Regions from separate parts of the Homo sapiens genome. Here region 1 is linked to region 2. Evidence: promoter capture Hi-C in human tissues and cell types (Jung and others, 2019). All regions are on one chromosome and are shown on one strand. Each heading gives the region's core, a stretch centred on a gene start or on the middle of the fragment in contact. The rest is flanking DNA. Distances are from core to core; before and after follow the strand shown.

The links. The method cuts DNA at HindIII sites, captures the fragments that hold promoters and counts their contacts. A contact is called where the count stands out against the background at its distance.
Region 1: a fragment that was not itself captured here is called in contact with the fragment with the promoter of METTL4 in region 2 in 3 of the 25 tissues and cell types used here (H1 embryonic stem cells, hippocampus and mesendoderm cells).

What each region holds. Positions count from the first base shown.
Region 1 is chr18:2,350,708-2,354,954 of GRCh38, reverse strand. LOC105371961 (a long non-coding RNA gene) reads right to left here. Exons shown (of 4, transcript XR_935097.4): 1 at 4,154-4,247; 2 at 3,526-3,731. Among named protein-coding and RNA genes, the nearest start is that of METTL4, 220 kb to the left of the region's middle. RefSeq lists an enhancer at 3,171-4,247. The HindIII fragment of the contact is 6,362 bases long and covers 1-4,247 here.
Region 2 is chr18:2,569,401-2,573,875 of GRCh38, reverse strand. It overlaps METTL4 (methyltransferase 4, N6-adenosine), which reads left to right and starts at 2,371. Exons shown (of 9, transcript NM_022840.5): 1 at 2,371-2,727. NDC80 (NDC80 kinetochore complex component) reads right to left here and starts at 2,319. Exons shown (of 17, transcript NM_006101.3): 1 at 2,193-2,319; 2 at 790-899. The coding sequence starts at 890. RefSeq lists enhancers at 2,314-2,473, 2,356-3,278. The HindIII fragment of the contact is 12,565 bases long and covers 1-4,475 here.

The sequences.
Region 1 (4,247 bases), core at 798-3,297, 220 kb after region 2:
ATTTAATGTAATCAATTTTTAAAAACTTTTATTTTAGAATCAGGGGGTCCATAAGAAGGTTTTTTACAAAGGTATATTGCGTGATGCCAAGGTTTGCAGTACAAATGAGTCTGTCACTCAGGTAGGGGGCACAATACCAAATAGATAGGCTTTCAACTCTTGCCCCACTTTCTCCCTCCCTCTTCTTGTACTCCCCAGTGCTTATTGTTCCTATCTTTATGTCCATGTGTACCCAATATTTAGCTCCTACTTATAAATGAGAACACATGGTATTTATTTTTCTGAGTTAGTTCACTGAGGATAATGGCTTCTAGCTGCATACAACGCGGACGAACTTTGAGGCCATCATGCTAAGTGAAATAAGCCATTCACAAAAGGGCAAACACAGCAATGATTCCACGTATATGAAGTATCTAGAGTAATCAAATCCCTAGAGACAGAAAGTAGAATGGTGGTGGCCAGGGGCTTGGAGGAGGGGGTAGGAGTTATTGTTTAACTGGTACAGAGTTTCAGTTTTGCAAGATGAAAAGAGTTCTGTGGATGAATGGTGATGATGGTCGTACAATGTGAATGTCACTGAAATTTACAGTTAAAATGGTTAAGATAGTAAATTTTAAGTTATGTATGTTGTACATACATACATTTCAAAAAAGATATTAGACTAAACTCAAGGTCTTTGAGATTTGGGATGAATTTTAGATCCATGGTTATGACAGAGAATAAGGGAAAGTGGGAAATTAAATTTTTTTCTTACCATTCTACATGGCCCACAGTAAAGATCTATAGAACATTAAACTTTTCTATGATTAAGATTAGCCCTTTGCAACAAACAGACAGTAACACGATTAAATAATGGGCGAGTCATGTGTTCTGCCAAGGACTATTCCTCATAGGATCTTAGGTAGGATATATCATCTTAGAAAAGAATGCTTTGTGTGTTTGGCACCAAGACAGGTGTGCTATGAAGAGGAAGTGTGTTTTAGGGTTGAGGGGAGAAAGGTGGAAGTTTAAAAGATGTATTTTAAGACAAATTGTGTTCAACATGGATATGTCAAACATGGCACATATTACTACGCTCACAGATGAGTGAGCATAGGAATAAGAAAAATCCATTCTCACTCTTTTTCAGTTACCGAGAGCCTCGGCGCATACATCCTTTTAGAATATTTTCTACCCTGAAAGGATATTTCTATTATTTATCTTTAATAAAAACTCTTAGTGTACATTAACTTTTAAAAAATGTAATAATATATTTGACTCTTTCTATGTTGGAAAAAATAATTCTTGAACATCACCATAATTGGTTTGTAGAATTCCACATGATAGAGGTGCACAATTTACCTAGTCAGTTCTCCATTATTGGACCTATAATTTACTTACACTTTCACAGGGAGCATGATACGATTTGCAGTTTTGAAACATCATGCCAGTAGCTTGCAGTCAAGTTTAACTCGGCCACTTCCTAGCCCAGCAACTTTGGGCAAACCACTTAACTTTCTGTCTCATTTTCCTTGTTATAAAGTAATAATAATAATGATAATTATAAATCTAATATTTATTGAAAGCTTATTATGCAGTAGGTATGGTGCCAAGTGCTTTTACATCCATTGTGTCTTTTATACATTAAACACAGGCAGTAGGTACTACTGTTATTACCATGCTAGAGATGAATGCTGACTTAGGTATCATGCCCAAGGTCATACATCTAGTAAAAGGGAGAGCCAGGACAGTACCTGCTTCAGAGTTTCCATGACGACTAAATGGGAAAATATATGCAAATGTATTTTTAAAAGTGATTTTTCCATGTAAACCCTGAGATGACTCCTGCCATTTTCATTGGGGAAATAAAATAGTGGCCGGAAGGTTTAGAGAGTTTTTTTTTTCTATTTTTAGAATAAAAACTAAATTCTGAAGCATGGTTCACATCACCAGTTTGCTTAAATACTAGGCAATCATTTCCTGTGGTTGCCAGGATTAAACACCAATACCTCACTGACAATTTCTAGTTTGACCTAATGGCTCTGACAATTCAACTCCGTCCCTCCCCATGCTATATGCCTCAGCCAGAGTGGGTTCCCTACAGTTTTCTTCTTTTAAATTTATTTTTTTTTGATGCATAATAGATGTACATAATTTTGGGATCCATGTGAGAATTTAATACATTCATATAATTTGTAAAGATCCAATCAGTGTGCTTGGGATGTCCATCACCTTAAACATTTGTCCTTTCTTTATGCTAGGACTATTTGAATTATCTTCTACTTATTACGAAATATACAATAGATGACTGTGAACTAGAATAACCCTACTGATCTCTTTAACTCTATGTCTTATTTCTTCTATCAAATCACATATTTGTATCCATTTATAAATTTCTTTTCATCTCCCTCTTCCCTACACTTTTCCGAACATATCAATTTGTCTTTCCTCATCATCTTAGCATGTTTTCCTCTGTGTCTGGAATATTCTCCACCAGTCTCTAATTATTGATATTCTTTGAAATGATCTCAAGTGCCAATGTAGCCATGAAATCCTAATATTTACAAATGAATATACATTTCCACTTCTGCTGTTCTGAATTGACGCTCACCTTACTGTGCCTTTTATTGTGAACATTCATTTCCTGGTGTGTAGGTGCTTAAAAGCCAGGATTAATGTACCAGCCATTTGGCATCTCTTTCAGAACCTGAGATTTAAAGAACTGGAAGAAAGCCAATGTGTGGGGATGTGTGTACGTGCACACATGTGGGAGTTCTGAGGGAGCGATGGATCATTTCGTTAATTTCTTTCAACAGCACCCAAACAAATTATTAGATATCTGCCTTGTGAATTTTGCCTTAGGAATGTTGTTCCTTTCAACGAGAGAAATTGAAACCAGAAAATACCAGGTCAAATAGGAATAAGGAAAGTTACTGTCACTTAGATGTAATTAAAATCTAGCCTAACAGTGAGAGGAGGTTCCAGCTGGGCTTCCTGGGTTGATTAGGGGCTCAGAAAGCTGTGAAACTCACTCCTTTCCTGCATCAGGACTTACTTTGGTCCTGGATGAATAATATTAAAGATATGTGCTTAAAATAATATTCCTAACATCAAAACTTGGGCATGTGTTTTCTTCCCCCAAGAAAGCTATAAACAGCGAAACTTTTGCTGTAAGCTTCCCTGTGTCCTCGCTCCCTCTCTCCCTTGCCCCTTCCCTGAAACTAAAAGGAATGTTAAAAGCCCATTTTCCTGCGATCAGCAGACCTTATCTATGTCCCAATTCCAATTCCTTGTCAACACAATCTGTAAAGTCCTGTGAGATCCTGTCTCCTTTGCCATGCCGCTGCAAGGTCATAAAGCAGGTAAAAGTTAAGTTACCATGCCGGTTTTCCTCAAGATCTAAGACATCTTAATCGTCTTTGTTTCTTGCTCTGGTAACATCTTCCCACCTCGGGTATTTCCCGCCTTAAAGAGTTTAAAAGGTGATCAAAAGATCTAACACTGGCTACCCGCGGGGGACCCTTCCGCGCTGTGGAAGCTTCCTACCGTCACTCTGCTCAGTGAAGCCCACAGCCTTTTTCTCTCGGTCCGATCCGTGTCTCTGTCACCGCGGGCTGCCCTCACACCCAATCTTTGGCGTCGCTAAAGCAGGAACCTCCGGCGTGACGGGGGCACATACCACCCAGCCCGGCCTGGCCAGGCAATCGGACTCGATCTTCAGATGATCTTACAATTGGTCACAAATAGGGGTCCTGCGAGGAGAGAAAGCTTTGTCAAGCTGACGTCTCAATCCTGTTTTGAATGAATAGGCACAGGACGGACTCATTACGTCAGCACTGTGTAGGGCCGCAAGCTTCCTGCTCACCTACAGAGAATACATACTGCTGCCTTCCTCTTTGGCTTGCAATTTTACTCAAGGACACACACACACACACACACACACACACACACTCCCACACGCTGGCCTTTCTTTGACCTACTTGTCTCAGAAACCCCTTCTTCAGGAAAAAGTTTTTTCTGACTTTTGAAAATGTAGCCTAAGTAAGGGATGAGCAAGGCTTAGGCTTCTGCCAAAATGGCGGCTGTGGAGAGAAGTGGCCGGATATGGAAGGCTCCCCCTCTCCAGCGCTAGTCTCCAGCCGCCATCTTATTCAGGCCCTCGTTGGTTTCTCACCCAGATGACTGCAACAGCTTTCTCATTCGTCTCCTGTCTGATGCCTCCCTTTCCAACCAACCTGCACATGGCTACCAGACAGATATTTCTAAAA
Region 2 (4,475 bases), core at 1,122-3,621:
TTGACAATGGTGACCTTTTAGCTTCTAATACAATTAAAGGCATAACTTTTTTTGGTATAAGTAATGTATAACAGCACAAACATTTTCTTGGTTTACAGTATTCAAAAGGAAAAATATATAAATATTTCAAATTTCTAAAAGTAACATAGGCTCATACTATGTAAATCCAAGTAATTTAAAAACAGTTAGCAAGTAACTTGTACCTCGGTACTAGAGAAGAATTATACAGCTCTACAATGGCTTACAAATAGCCTTCTCTTATCTGGAAGATAATCACTCATAATGAAAAACTATAGTTTATGACAGCAGGTTCTTTCAGATATTTTTCCAGCAAATCTTGAGGAAAGAGTTCGGAGGAGTGGTGTTTTGTAGGCTGCTACTATATTATACCTTATGAGAGCAAATAATTTTGCTCTGATTTGATTGAAGCTTTGCTAATTGGAAATATCTCAGTGAACTCTAAGTTACAGCACAGAGCCTGCTTAAACAAGTAGCTCTAGAATAAAAGAGAAAAATAAGAGAGTACTGAACAAGAATTAACAGTCCTTTTAGGGGGTGCCTGGTAAAGCATTTGGCTTTGGAAATTTGTGAAACAAATGACACAAACAACACCTAGCAGAGTATCATGCCCACTTTTAGATTTCATTGATCCAAAATTAGGTACCCCTGGGAACAGACAAGATTCACCAAGACATCACTCATATTACATCTTTATATTAACTATTTCTTATGATTTCTTTGCCTAAGATGATAAAGCATGCAAATTAGAACCACAAGGGAAATACTCACGTTTGAGGGGTATAGAGGCCTTGTTTATTTACATCCTGGGATCTTAACTCCTGCATGGAGAGGCGGCCAGCACCACCGCTGGAAACTGAACTGCGCTTCATGCTTATGACCTACATTCACGAATTCAGTATTTAAAAAAAACTTTCCAGACAGAGATGGTACATTAAGCAACTATTTATCCTTAAACAGAAAGACAGTCAGGTTTCATTGTTTCTTCAAGATCATCATCTTTCCCCTGGGGTATCTCTTTTTTGTTCATGTACACTGAAGTTCTCATTTGCAAGGAACATCTATTTAATTCCATTTAAAAATATTCAACATAAACATTTATTAACTGCCCACTATATATATAGGGGAGTGTGCTAGGCAATGCAGGAGATGCAAAGACGAGTAAGTTACGGTTTTTGCCTTCACAAGGGTATCCGTGGTAGCTAAAGCCCTGTCTGTTACCCAGACCACATTACTGCTGTTGGCTGTGCCTATTTCAATAGGAAGACAAAAAAATTACCTCAAATTCTCTTATTCACCTCAAAATGTTTCCTTTTCTTTGGTTTCAGAGAATGGAATTATTCTGTTTTCCTAATGTCAATCTCTCCTGCTCTGTCCTTAACCCATTGTTTCCTCAATTACTGCCCTTTTGGCATCAATCTCCCCTTCAACAAGGATAAATCATCCGGTCCATAAAATGGTCTATAGGCTGCCTCCATTTACAAACCACATTAACAGGTCACTCCCTTCACATCTGCTAAAAAATTTGTCTCCTAGGATACACATGATTGACAAAACTTTTGATCCTGTCTCATCTCTGCACCCAGCCTTCTCAGGTCCTGCCCTGGCTTTCAGGAAGGTGACAATCCTTTTACTTCTCTGGGTACTCCTTAGTCTTTTACACTGATTAGACTCTTCTTGATTTTGGCCGCCTATTTCCTCTTCAATATGCGCTTGTTCATCTATTCAACTTTTCCACTCACACCTGTGTGTCCACGTTTAATCTCCACTTAGAATGTAGCTCTCATGATTTAAGATGAAGACTTCTACACGCAGTCCTACACGGCCATAAGAAGCTACACTAGTATTCAGACGCAACCCACCCAACGAGTCCTCTCTTGTCCATCTCTTTCCGCCCCCTTCAATTCTTCCCCGTTTCCTCTCCCGAGCCTCCACTCCTCATCAGTGTCCCCCAGGCCCTCCCCTTTCCTCCTTGGGAAATCGTTGCCACTAGAAATTTAATAGATCCCGTGAAACCAGCGCCTCGCACAGTTTTGGCCTCGAGGCTTCTCCCAACAGCAAACAAACACCAAAACATCGCCTCAGGACCTCTAAATTTAAGTCATTGGCGCCATCACTTTCTTCCTCCAGAACAGCTCTGCAGAAACAAAGTTAATCCGATGTCATTCAGTCACCTTTTTTCCAGTTTCCTGACACGACCCAGGGACCGAATTTCTGTAAACCGTGCAAGTATCTGCTAGACAGGACAGCGGTCATCAAAACACCAGGTCCTTCCTCGGCCCGCCAAAGCCGTTCGAATTTGAAATTCTCCGCCGGCGCTGACGTCATTACGCACGACGCGCGCAGTAACTTCCATGCGACCGCCTCGTCGCTGGAAGGCTGCGTGCTGGTCGCGCCCAGCTGCGTCACCCCAGGAACTGGGGTCTGTGGGCCAGTGTGGCCGTCTCTACGAAGACTGGCACGACCCCTAAAGTTAGGTCGGAAGACCTGTGGGCAGCTTGAGCGCCGAGGAGTGCCCTGAACGCTCAACTCGCCCTGGAAACGTTTTTCCGTACAGCAACATGGCGGCGCCCATGGACTCTTAGAAAAGGAGAAAGCTTTTTCTCTGTGGACTGGAAGGGGCATTTTTCATGATCACTATTTAGATGGGTGCTGTTTTCATGAGGAGAGTCTGGGAAGGCGGCGTCCGCTTTTCTGACAAGGGAAGAGGTGAGGTGGGAGAGGGGCTGCGGAGTGGGTGGAATGGGCTCCCAGGATTGCGTTGGTACGGCTGCCGAAATTCGGGCTCAGTATTTGATCACTTGCCGGAGGCTCACGGTCCTCTGGTGGTGGCTGACCTGTGAGAGGCTAGGAAGAATCCAAGTGTTTGGGGGCGGGCGGCGAGGGAGTGGATGTGAAGCAGAGACGCAGGAGAGGGGTGCACTAACAACAGTAACAGTAGATCACTTTGCTAAAATAGGATTTCCTCGCTGCTGTGAGTTTGAATCCAGAAACAGGCACTGCCCGGTACCTGGAGAGTGGTGGTGATGAAAGATCTCACAGCTCCAGGAAGTCTGGATACTTGGGTCTGGTAGCAATTGTGCCATTAACTAGCGTTGTTATTTTTGGGCAGCTTGCCTTTCTGCTCTGAGTTTCAATTTTCCCGTCTGAATTTCTAGCTCTCACTAGCCATTCCAGGACCCTTTTCACCTCAGCTGTGGCCTATGAAGGGGATGGGGAGGAACCAAGGATTATATTAATATAAAAATTATATGAAAATTAGGCAACCGTCTGATAATAAAAAGTCTCCTTGTGGAATACTGTTAGGTTAAACTTTACCTACAGATTGTTAAATCCTTAGCACTAATGTTTTCCCCAGAAAAGATTAATGGAAACATCATTTGCTTTTCTGACTAGATAGTTGCTGCTTCCAAAGGTGGTTTTACACAAATACAAAATTAAAAACACCTTTAGTACAGAAATAATTGCTTGTATTTCGGTATACATTCACAGTACAGTTCAGCATTTAGTGGTCCTGCTAGCAATTTGCCAGGAAGTCAAGCCTGCCAATTTCCTGATATTCCTGCTGTGCACCCCAACTTCTTAATCCCTGCTGAGGATCTTGAGAAGCAGCAGCACCAAAACCAAAGTAGGCACCAAATTCAAGGTTCTTTTGGTTCCGGTTGTCACATTTCAAGCTAGACTCCAATAGATGGAAGGATGATCACATGTGAGCCCTGTTTAAAACTTCAATTTTTAAGAGCAAGCACAATTGCAGGAAAAGAAAACAATTCAGAGGGATCATGTGTGCTTACAGTTGTCTTCATGTGGCCTTTTCCCAGGTTTAACCACCAAGGACCCTGACAGCCGGGGTGTCTGAATAACCCTGGTGACTCTTTTCACCATATCAAAACCTGAGTTAAAAGGCTGATGATAACAGCAGAAGGTGGCAGGGCTGAGGACCCACTATTAATTTCCTAGGCTGGTGGAGAGTGAATAAATGTTCTTCCAACCTTACCTTATGGCTTCTGGTCAAAGCAAAGAAGTGTCGTGGAAAGTGTTGGGTGGTGACAGTGCAAAAAGAGACTTGACGGGGAGGGAGCAGCATCTCTTGATAAAGGTGGGGAAGAGAAGATATGGGGAAAGCCCTGAATTCCTCATGGAAGGCGAATCTCAGAGGGGAGCGGAGCAGAGGGCTTATGATCTGTGCTTTGGCCAAGGGTGGGAGTGGAAGAGGTGGGGACAGGACAGTGGTTTGGAAGGAGCATCACTGAATACTTAAACTGAGTGCCCACACACTCAGCAGTGGTCCCACAGGCTGTGATCTTCACGTCTACTCTAACAAGCCTCCCAGGCTAGAGGGCTGTTGCAGTGGGTGGGGGTGGGAGGAAGGGAGAGCGGTAGGGGGAGAAGGCGGAGACTCCAGGCCATGTAAGGAGAAGCAAGGTGATTGTGTGGTCTTTCCACAGTTGAATTAG